Linked DNA regions of Homo sapiens: region 1 is linked to region 2. Evidence: promoter capture Hi-C in 16 types of primary human blood cells and fetal thymus (Javierre and others, 2016). All regions are on one chromosome and are shown on one strand. Each heading gives the region's core, a stretch centred on a gene start or on the middle of the fragment in contact. The rest is flanking DNA. Distances are from core to core; before and after follow the strand shown.

The links. Contacts are between HindIII fragments. The CHiCAGO score rates a contact against its expected background, and 5 or more counts as called.
Region 1: a contact is called between a fragment that was not itself captured here and the fragment with the promoter of ARHGAP31-AS1 in region 2, in 1 of 17 cell types (non-activated CD4 T cells). The highest score is 5.1, in non-activated CD4 T cells.

Annotation. Positions count from the first base shown.
Region 1 is chr3:120,098,671-120,104,258 of GRCh38, forward strand. All of the region lies in intron 1 of GSK3B-DT (GSK3B divergent transcript), which reads left to right. Among named protein-coding and RNA genes, the nearest start is that of GSK3B-DT, 6.4 kb to the left of the region's middle. The HindIII fragment of the contact is 4,151 bases long and covers 1-3,608 here.
Region 2 is chr3:119,318,697-119,324,989 of GRCh38, forward strand. It overlaps ARHGAP31-AS1 (ARHGAP31 antisense RNA 1), which reads right to left and starts at 4,064. Exons shown (of 2, transcript NR_046748.1): 1 at 3,918-4,064. The region is part of intron 1 of ARHGAP31 (Rho GTPase activating protein 31); the gene reads left to right. RefSeq lists enhancers at 3,735-4,592, 4,593-5,449 and silencers at 4,012-4,371, 4,422-4,771. The HindIII fragment of the contact is 4,466 bases long and covers 1,380-5,845 here.

The DNA of each region.
Region 1 (5,588 bases), core at 283-2,782, 780 kb after region 2:
CAAAGTTTAAAATAAATTGCCCATGCATTCCTATTTATAATAGGTGAGTGGAGGACACTTCAATCTAAAGTGATCTTAAAGGAGGAGTAGTAGGATTTGAAGATGAAGAAAGAAGAGGGGAGGTAAATTACTTTCCATCACTTCAATTTCAACCCATCAGATAAAACCTCTCTTTAGTAAACCTGCATGTGGGTGGAGCTGTAACAGCAATTAAGGACAGTGTGACTCTGTTCTTCTGACTTTGGGAAAACCAGTTTGGCTGGAACAAAAAGCTGATAGAGAAGACTAATGGAAGATAAGGTTGAAAAGGTAGGTTTGAGGGAGCTTTGTTACAGGAAAAAAAAAAAAAAAAAACTGGGCTTTGTCCTGTAGACAGTGGAGAGGTACTTTAGCAGATGTAAGACATTACCATTATAGGAAAGCCTCTGAAGTAACATACACTGTGGTTTTTCCTGTTGCTGAAAATATGCCCAGAGTAACAAGATGTGGCATAGTTGGTTATGTGTCTTATAACCAGTGAGGTGTGCCCAAATGGGAAATTAATGAATGACTACCCAAAAAGAAGAGGGAGAGTGTTTGAAACACTGTCACTGTGAAATAGACTGGTTGTATGAAAAGTTGCATATCAAGCCTTTGGCAAATTATATAAATACTCTGATTTTGACATCTTAAAGGAGTATACTATAGAAAATAAAAGAAAAACACTTGAATCTGTTACAGGAAACGGGTCATGATCCAGACCCCAGGAGAGGGTTCTTGGATCTCACACAAGAAAGAATTCAGGGTGACCCCACAGTGCAAAAGTCAAAGCAAGTATTAAGAAAATGAAGGAATAACAGAATGGCTACTACATAGAGCAGCCCTGAGGGCTGCTGGTTGCCCTTTTTTTTTTTTCCTTTGAGATGGAGTTTTCGTTCTTGTTGCCCAGGCTGGAGTGCAATGGCGTGATCTCGGCTCACCACAACCTCCACCTCCCAGGTTCAAGCAATTCTGCCTCAGCCTCCCGAGTAGCTGAGATTACAGGCATGCGCCACCACGCCCGGCTAATTTTGTGTTTTTAGTAGAGTGAGGGTTTCTCCATGTTGGTCAGGTTGGTCTTGAACTTCCGACCTCAGTTGATCTGCCCGCCTTGGCCTCCCAAAGTACTGGGATTACAGGCATAAGCCACCGCACCTGGCCTGGTTGCCCATTCTTTATGGTCGTTTCTTGATGATATGCTAACCAAGGAGTGGATTAATCATGCCTCCCCTTTTTGGACCACATAGGGTCTAAACTGTCATGGCACATTTGTAAACTGTCATGGCACTGGTGGGAGTGTAGCAGTGAGGACGACCAGAGGTCACTCTCGTCGCCATTTTGGTTTTGGTGGGTTTTGGCCAGCTCCTTTACTGCAACCTGTTTTATCAGCAAGGTCTTTAAGACCTGTATTTTGTGCTGACCTCCTATCTCATCCTGTGACTTAGAATGCCTTAACTGACCATCTGGGAATGCAGCCCAATAGATTTCACCCTCATTTTGCCCGGCTCCTGTTTAAGATGGAGTTGCTCTGGTTCACATGCCTCTAACAAATCCTTTTAGTTTTTCATGCTTGTCACATGTTTACTTCTAAGGGTATAATCATGTGGTTTACTATATTATTACCGATTAGATTATTTTGAACTACTTCAATTTTATTTATTTTACCTCATTTCCATTCACATTTTTTGAAAAGAGCTTTTTTATACAAGAGTGTAAATATTTTCACATTGAATAAATGAATTGAAAACAGTATGTGTTGATTGAATACTTGAAGTATACTTCTTTACAGCAAATTCTAGGAATTCAGCTTTGTTTTATGTGCATTAAAATGTAATAAATATAGGCCTGAGAAATTCTCAGAACAAATATTTTAGGCCCTCAGTAGCTGTAAATCGGGAACGGTCAGATTTCCTTCACATGGAAATGGGACTCACATCTCTCAGAATGGAACAGAAGTCTTTTGGTCTTTAATCTATGTCATGTTGATGGGAAATGTGAAAGCTACAAGAAAATTGGTATTTGGTTTCTTGGATATTGAATATCCTTGGCCAGGGGTGCAGGGAAGTGAAAAAAAAGTAAGACCTCCTATGGATCATCCAAAAAGGAATTTCAGAATGCAGAGAGGACTGGTCTCCCTTAATCAGGCCAAAACTTTATTTGAATTGTATCAGGATGCTTCATTCCTGTGCCCTGTAGGATGGAATCTTGAAAGAAAATGGGAAGGAATGTACAAAGCCTCAAGGAATGTGTTTCTCTGTAACATCTAGATCAGACAGTAGTATGAAGTGCCAGATATGAAACCAGAAAGGATCCTTATGAGAGTTTATAGCTCAGTTTTAAGATGTTTTACTATCTCTGCTGTCTTATTTTTTTATTTTTATTTTTAGAGATGGGGTCTCGCTCTGCTGCCCAGGCTGGAGTGCAGTGGTGTGATCATAGCTCACTGCAACCTCAAACTCCTGGGCTCAGGTCAACCCTCCTGCCTCAGCCATGCCCTGCCACTGCCCCCTTCCCCCGCAGTAGCTGGGGCTACAAGTGCATGCCACCACACCCAGCTATTTTAATTACTTTGTAGAGACAGGGTCTTGCCATGTTGTCCAGGCTGGTGCTGTTGTTCTTTATTTTTACAATGTATATTGTGTATGCACTAGTAGTGTTCAGTACTTGAAGATAAAAGTAGTAATTTAGGAAAAATAACCATTATTCCCCTAACTAAATCTTGCTACTCTTAGGACCAGTTAGGAGTCTTAGGAAAATATCAACTCTGATTGTTTTTTCTTTTCTGTTTGTTTGTTTTTATTGTTGTTGTTATTGTTTAGATAATTTGTTGCTCTGTCACCCAGGCTGGAGTGCAGATGTGTGATCATGGCTCACTGCAGCCTACCTCCAGGGATAAAGCAATCCTCCCGCCTTAGCCTCCCAAGTAGCTGGGACTTACAGGCACACAACTGACCTAGCTAATTTTTTTATTTTTGTAAAGGCAGAGGTCTTCCTACGTTGTCCAGACTGGTCTTGAACTCCTGGCCTCAAGCAATCCTCCCACCTTGGCCCCCAGAGTGCTGGGATTACAGGTGTGAGCCACTATACCCAGTCTGGTTTTTTTTCTTTTTTTTTTTTTTTTTTTTTTTTTTGAGGACTCAACATGTCCGAGACAGTTGAGTACACTTCTACTTTCTCTAACCACTTCTTGACAATTTGAATACAGTTTTCATTTTTAGTCTTCTTATCAAAAGTGTTCCAATTGTACTTTTTATCCTTAAGGACTTTAAATATGATTATATAGAATTTCATAAATTTTGCTGGCCTGTGTTGGACAACACATGAAAAGACACGAATATCCTAATTCCACCAGGAAGTGCTTGTTGTCTACTGTGTGCCCAGGTCTGTGCCACATATGGTGGGAAACATTTGCTTGCAACAAATTGAGAAAACTGCTGTATATGCTTTAAAACCTAACTGGTTTATTCAACTGCATTTTAAAAATATTTCCAAGGCCAAAGGCTCTTGGACCCTTTTAGAATTAAAAACAAATATCTTACACAGCCATATCAGCTGGAACTCTGAGGAAGCAAACTATCCTATGGAGGTTAAGCTTTTAATCTGGCATGAGAGGAGTTAAAGTGAAGTACTTCTAAGCACCAGAGAAACCATCTAGTGGGAAAAAAAGAATTCATCAACAGGGAGTTGCCAAATGAGGACACGCACATGCTTTGCCTTCATTATCTAACTTTCTTCCAGTATAAATAGAATTACATGGAGGTGTAAGGCATTTCTCTTGATCTCAGTCAATGCTGTGCACATCGTGGGAACTCAGTAAATGTTGGCAAAATGAGTAGTGTGATTGTAATTGAAAAAGCGAAACAATTATAACCATCAAAATTACAACTTTATAAAATATCTGCATATGGACAAGCACTCTGAGAAAATACTCCCCCCAAAAAAGTTGTTTTATTAATTTTTTAGTTTTCTGAATTTTTTCTTACATTAATTTTTTTCCTATTATCGGTTCTACAATATAATTTGAGTATCAAAATTTCTTAATTAGATGCATTCAAATAGAATCACAGCTTGGGGCAAGTCTCCGTTCACCACCAGGCTTCAAACATGTCATGGCATATCTGGCAAATTGGTAGTTTCAGGCTGCCAAGAGGTGATTTACATAAGGGTTTTGGTGGAAAGACTGCCAAGAAGTGTGGATGACAGAGAGGTGGGGGTTGGCCAGACTGCTTTTCAGTCAATTTGCACAGCTACAGTGCACCAGCCAGTGTTCCAGTTGGTCAGTGCCCATGCCATGCCAGCTGTTAATCCTTGGATTGAGGGAATGACACCTTACCTATCTTGAAGATTCATATTCCAATACAGCCTCGTGGAGTCCACTAGGAAAGTACCAAGAGCAGAAATAGGAGTGCACTAAAATCATTACTACATCACACAACATAATCAAAAGATGAGGGGTTACAGCTTGTTGCCACTTGTGCAGAAAATGATGGCACGATTTTGCAGTATTGGAGATTCCAGGAAACAAGCATTTTGATTCTTTGAGGGCCACAACGGAGGTCATGAAGATGTCCAGCAGCACATGGTAATGACCTGGCTTAATGGGGCTGGCTCACTGATGAGTACTAGAAGTGTTCAAGAAAACTCAGCAGCAGATATCCACGTGGCCGCAGATATGCCTTATTCTTGAGCCCATGTAAAACACTGTGTAGGGGCTCTTAGAAATTATGGGCAGAGGATTTTGCAAGGAGCTGAAGTTCGGCATCAGCAAGCAAAGACAGGAGCCAATGAAATACGGATTGCGAAACTATTCCTAATTAGTTCATTATTAATGTAATCAGATAGCTCATATAGAGTTAATGTAATCAATAGCTCATATAGAATATGAGAATGGGAGGTCCATCTGCTGTTTCCTCACTTGGTGGTCCCCATTTCCGCAAGGTTCTTATTTGTGTTACCATTTCACGAAAATGAAAGTATTGGTAGTTTTTAAAAACAGTTCAGGGCTTTTTTTTTTTTAACAACACAACCCATATATGCAAGTCAAATACAATTCTTCATCTGGTGCTCAACCAAAGAAAGAGTGATACATTCCAATACTGGAGGAAAAACTGGCCTGACTAAATTTATTGATATTTAAGGTCTTGTAAAGGGTAATTTTGAAAGTATGTAATTTCCACTTAAAATGCTATTTTAAGAACCTGAACCTTGCTGTAGTAGTTCCTTTTCATGCTGCTAATAACGATATACTCGAGACTGGGTAATTTGTAAAGGAAAAAGGTTTAATGGACTCACAGTTCCACATGGCTGGGGAGGCCTCACAATCACTGTGGAGGGCAAAGGAAGAGGACATCTTACATGGCTGCAGGCAAGAGGGCATGTGCAAGGGAACTCCTCTTTATAAAACCATCACATCTCATGAGACTTATTCACTATCACAAGAACAGCATGGGAAAAACCTGCCCCCATGATTCAATTACCTCCCCCCAGGTCCCTCCCACTACATGTGGGAATTCTGGGAGCTACAATTCGAGTTGAGATGTGGGTGGGGACACGGCCAAACCATATCAGCA
Region 2 (6,293 bases), core at 2,814-5,313:
TACTCTTGAATAATTCTAATTTAATACTGTAGAATTAGTCTCTCGCTTATAATTATTTTGAGTTAAACATTTAAATCTCTAAAAATTCAAAATCTAAGCTCTGGTAGTACAGAATGCAGTAATAATTCAATAAACAAATATTCCTGGGAAAAAATTGAGAAGGTGAAAACAAGCTAAGCTACATTCCAGTATTAGATGGACCTCTATCTCTTGGTCCAACAACCTGCCCATTTTTTTTTACATACAGGTCAGATTGCTCCAAAAAAACAAAAAAAATGCCTTTTCAAAATAAGCAACGCTGCTGGTCTAGTCTATCTTGGGACTCATTGTTAAAAATTCTTCCCTTCTGCTGCCTTCTTTTGGGTAATACCAAACAAACATTAACAACTGTGGAACAGATGTTCTAACTAGTGAGGATTCCAAAGCTCGGCTCAAACGCATTTTCAACCAGAACAAGACACCAACCACAGAGATTAATCTTCTGGTATGGGTGCTATGAGATAAAAGCACCTTCTGGATTTCATCATATATTAAAAAAAAAAAAAACTCTAGAGTTTTTTTTGTTTCTTTCTTTTTAGGGATGGGTCAGAAAATTTTTCTATTTTGTGAGCCCAAGTGTCATACAAATATTTATGTTGGTGTTTTGATTTTAGACAAAGCAAAGATCATTGCTTTCTGTTCTGCTGTAATAACTTTTAAAAAGATAATTTCTCTGCCACCGTCTTTTATTTTTGTGGAAAATATTAAGAAACCACGGTACATTATAGCATAAGACATCTTAAGAAGATAACATTTCACTGCATTCCATAAATTGCAGGATATCAAGCAAGGCAGTTCCCACCTTCCATCTAGATGCCAACACAGTCATATCCAACCCAAACATTTGCGCTTATTTCATTTAATCAACAAGAATCTGTAGATAACCAAACATTTTCCTAGTACTGAAGCATCATATCCCCTGGCTCTAACAGACTTTAATTTTAAAAGTCTAAAAAGAACCATGAGCGGTTCCCCCTCTTTCCCTATAATCTATTCCAGTGATTGGAAAACAGGGTGGTGAGGTTGGTGAGATGGTCAAGTTGTTAGAGGAAGGCTGTGAATCCACGAATGTCCAGTGTCTGACCCTCAACCTAGTGACACCTCCCATTTCATTCCCAGTAAAACGTGTACAGCTTTCAATAGGTGAGGGAGGGACAATGATAAAAAGCCCACACAAGGTGAGATCAGCAAGGGATCTCCCCTGGCAGGGGAAGAATCAAGGGAGGGGAACTGGAATGACCCAAGATTTCCTTAAGCCCAGACCCACACCTCTCTGTGTATGGCTTGGTAAATTCTACATCTACCCCACAGAGAGTCCTAGATTTCAATCCCAGAGCAAAAGCTTTGCCTTTTATCATAACACAGGTCCTCACCAGTTTATGCTACATTCCTTGTTCAAGGTATGGTATGTAGTATTACTTGAAGGATATTGCTGCATTCTCCCTTCTACCAGATCCTCCCACAAGACTGAACAGTTCTCAAACTAGCGAAACTTGGTTTTATCAGTGTCTATTCTCTGCTGCTACATAAAGATCTCCAGGGATACAGGGCACTTAGACATGAGGCTTTCTTGATATTCTTCCTTCCCTCCCTATAGAAGAGGAATAGGCCCCAAATAAGGGGCTACATGATCATTAGGCATTTTCCAACCCAAAATAAGCATACTCATCCTATTGCTAAGGTAAGATAATAATACTGGTATCAACAACCTTGGGCCAAATGTGAAGATGTTAAATTCATTTTGCACACCTATTCTTCAGGATTAAAAAATATTATCCTGATAAATACAGTAAACCCATTGTAAACAAAACTTTTCATGATGCAGTAACCTTACCCATTACTCCCTTACCTCCTATCTTAAATAATGTTTGAGTGTATTCTTCCCTTTGCCATTAAAAGTTCCATTACTTCTGCCCACAAACCAGCAAGTCCTCACCAATCAAGAATCAGCTGCGATCTCATCATTTTCTTTTTGTGTATTCTAAAACTCAGATGTTTTCTCTCCTCTGGCCTACTGTGGCATGCCCTTCCCTTTCACTAATATCTTGGACATTGATATGGTTTGGCTGTATCCCCACCCAAATCTCATCTTGAATTCCCACGTGTTGTGGGAGGGACCTGGTGGGAGGTAATTGAATCATGGGGCCAGGCCTTTCTCGGGCTGTTCTTGTGATAGTGAGTAAGTCTCACGAGATCTGATGGTTTTGAAAAACGGGAGTCTCCTTGCAAAAGCTCTCTCTTCTCTTGAGTGCCTTTAATCTTCCACCATGACTTGTGGCCTCCCCAGCCATGTGGAACTGCAAGTTCATTAAACCTCTTTCTTTTGTAAATTGCCCAGTCTCCAGTATGTCTTTATCAGCAGTGTGAAAACGAACTAATACAGATGTATAAACATTGACCCATCCTCTTTAACTTCCATATACCCTTTTTAAATTGCAGAAAAATCATTCAATTAGTGGAAAAATTGCTCAAGTAAATTTTATCATCTTTCACCCAGGCCCGGTGATTTCCTATTCAGCAGCAATTTCACATATATATATATACTATATATATATATATAGTATATATATATGTATTATGTATATATAATTATATACTATATATGTAAAATTTTAAAATCAATGTTTTCATACTTTTTAATAATACATGCTTATCCTCATTGTAGATAAATTGGGAAATACATAAATGTTTTAGAAAGAAAAAAATACTTGTATGTAATTCTATCACCCAAAGATGTAACATTTTGGTGGATTTCCTTCAAGTGTTTTTTTTCTATGTACATTTTCATATTGTGATTACACTGTGTGTGTGTATATATATATTATATATATATATGATTTTGTGTCTTGCTTTCTTATAACCGAAGTCTTTATTCAAGTTATAAAACCCTACATATAACATTTTAAGGCTCCGTAGGTTTTGTTTTGTTTTGAGACGGAGACTCGCTCTGTTGCCCAGGCCAGAGTGCAGTGTCACGATCTCAGCTCATTGAAGCCTCTACCTCTCGGGCTCAAGTGATTTTCCTGCTTCAGCCTCCCAAGTAGCTGGAACTATAGGCCCACACCACCACGCCCAGCTAACTTGTTTTTGTATTTTTAGTGGAGACGGGGTTTCGCCATGTTGGCCAGGCTGGTCTTGAACTTCTGACCTCGGGTGATCTGCCCGCCTCAGCCTCCCAAAGTGCTGGGATTACAGGCGTGAGCCACCACGCCCGGCCCATAGTAGTTTATCATATAAATATGCCAGTTTATTCCCTGCCTCCATTACTGGACATTTATAGTTATGATTGTTTTAATTTTATGAACAAGCCCACAGTGAATATTGTGAGGCATATGGCTCTTTTGTTATGTAATATTTCTTTGGAATAAACTCCCAGAAGTAAAATTGCTGGATTAAAAGGTGTGTTATTAGTCAGAACTCTCTTGGTTGTGACTGAAGGAACTCTGACATAAGAAAAAAAGTGGGGGTTAATTACTGATTCATAGAAGCAAACTTTGGCAAAGACAAGAAGGGAGCTGGCTTTAGGGAGCTGGGACCAGAGGCTGGAATTTTAACCTCCTGACTTTCTCCTTGTCTCTTGAATTTATCTTAGACATAAATGAAAATAGAGGTAACTCAAAGCGTCTAACCCACAGTGACAATTGCTGCTCTGTTTTTAGAGCCGGGATTTTGTTCGTGGACTTGCCTTGCCTGGTGGTTGAACTTTGCAGCCCCTTCCTCCTCCGGGCAGCTTCTCTCAGTGGCAGCTGTGTTCCCCATGGTTTGTCCTGGATGTCTCCCTTGTGCCATCCTTGCAAGCCCGCGGCCAGCGCCTCCACCCACGCTCCGGCCTTGCTCCCACTCCCACCGCTCTGCCACCTCCCACCTCAGCCTCCCACCTTGGTGTGGAGGGACCAGCGTCGAAGACAAAGGAATCTCTGACGAGAACCGGCCAGTCCGGGAGGGACGGCGGGGAAGGGGGTGCTGCTCTGGCGGAGCCCTCACTTCACTCGCTTCCCCTCGAGCGCCCCTCTAGGCTGGGGCCCGGCCGCTCTGGGCCTGCTCCTCCTCCCGCTCCTGTTGCGGGGCACCAGGTCAGACCCTACAGGGGGCTCCGCCAGGGGGAGGGGGAGAGGGGCTCCCTTCAAACTCGGCCCGGCCGCGGGGGTCCCGGGTGCCCTCTGCTGGGCTCCTTCCACGTCCTTGTCCCTCCTGAACTCCCGTTCCAGCCCTGCCCCCGCCCCGCAGTAGGGAACGGACTCGTTTCTGCCCCGCCCCGGGGTCCGGGCGCCCGCCCGGCGCTTCAGCTTCAGCAACGTCAAGGCCACGTTCCCTCCGCTCCAGCTCGAAAGACGGTGGCGCTGACTCTGCTCTGCGCGCCGCAGCTTCCTCCCGCTGCTCCGCCCAGCGGTTTCTGATCCCCTTTCGGCGCTGGGGACTCACACGCTGCGGCGACAGGAAAGCCCGCGCCCCCGGCCGCTTCCCGGAACGCCCTCGGGGACGGCTGAGTCACTTGGCGCCCGCCCGCGCGGCCACCGAGCCCAGAAGCGGGGAAAGCCCAGAAGCGGGGAAACCCCAGGGACAGCCGCCGGCCCTGGGGGCAGCCAGCGCTCCAGGCCGCCCAGCACCTCGGGCCCGGATGGGCTTCTCGCGCCCCAGGGCTGCGGCCACACCCCGCCGGCCCAGACCCCGCGGGTAGAGAAAGGAGGTGCAACCCTGAGAGCCAAGACGTTGGGCTTGGCTTTGCTTTGCGTTTCTTTCCTTTTTTCTTTTGTTTCTTTTCTTCTTCTTTTTTTTTTAACCACATCCAGGAAGAGGAGAAACCTGTCTCATGACAGGAAACGAAGAGGGAGGATGCATCCGAACTGAGGGACATTGTTTCAGTTGCCTCACCTGACATACTGTCTCACCTGAGAGAGGGAGGCCGAAGAGGCAGCCAATGGTGGCTGGAGCAAGCCCTGTCCTCGTTACCTGGGCTGTGGCTGAGCCCTGGGGCTCACCGGCTGTATGGCCCTGGGCAAGTCCTCGGAGCCTTAGGTTCTCTGCAAAATGGAGATGATGTTTAATAGAAAATGTTTCTATAACTTTTGTGGCTTACTTTTTGAAAAGCGAGGGAGGGACTTTTGTCCTTCCCTCCTCGCATCTCAGTCGCAGTGCTGGTTCACAATCAGGCTGTTAACGCGGTTTCCACATTTCCTGTCCTCCCCCTTCCCCTTTCCTGCTGGGAATAAGAAGGTGGGCCCCCAAGGAGACAGAGGGTACACTCGTAAATGAAAAAGAAAAGTCAGCACAAGGACCCTTTGCTGCGGAGATTTCTTTTTCCAGGTATCCTAAGTGGGGCTCTTGCCATCCCTGCCATCCCTGCTCTACACCGAAGGGGTGAAGTCCTGGGACTCTGTTATGCCCATCTGTATGTAATCCTAGGCAAGATTATTACAGTAGCGCTTTCCTCTTTTTAGAATATACCCTTGTCTAGCCCCTACCCCATCTTCAGGACAGTAAAGGTTCTCAACTCACTTCAAACCCTCCTAGCCGTCTAGAACAGTGGCTCACAACCGCAGACCCATAGGAAATGTAGGGCCATCTATGTAATAAATTTATCCGGATGTATTATAACAATTTTAAGGTTACACTTGTCCTTTCTTGAACAGGACAATTCTTTATTCTAAGACTATATGCTTCATAGTTTTAGTTATTTTGAATTGTCCATTCTGTTATGAAATACGATAGTTATTGTTGGTTGATGTCCTCTCTCAGAAAAATAAAAAATTAGCAGTCCTAGGTAGATCCCCCAAAATCTTTTAAACTTGATCTGTGAAATCCAAAAAGCTTGGGTACCATTGCTGTATTCCACATGTGGTTCACATCAAGGTTCCTTGTCCCTCCCAAGGAGATTTGTAGCTATTAAAAGAAACAAACAAACAAACATAAACAACAAAAACCCTTTCGAGAATCAGATCCTCAAAGAATGTTTAAGGATAGACGTGGAAAAACAAAGAGTGGGGAGAGGAGTCTTTCTCTACTCTCAACCCCTAGCCCTTAGTGTAGGTGAAGGCAGCACAGTTGTATCTATTCTAACTGGTATTTAGTATTGAGCATAACTTTTAATGGACGACTCCTTTTAGTAAAACAGAGAACCAATTTTGAATAAACCAAGGTCTCTTGGTCTCTCAGTTTGCAGATCAGCGGAATGGCTAAATGAAGGTGCTATACTTTACTTAAAAGGTGAAAATGTGTCATTTGGGTAAGCAATAAGCAGTACTCCTCATGTCAAT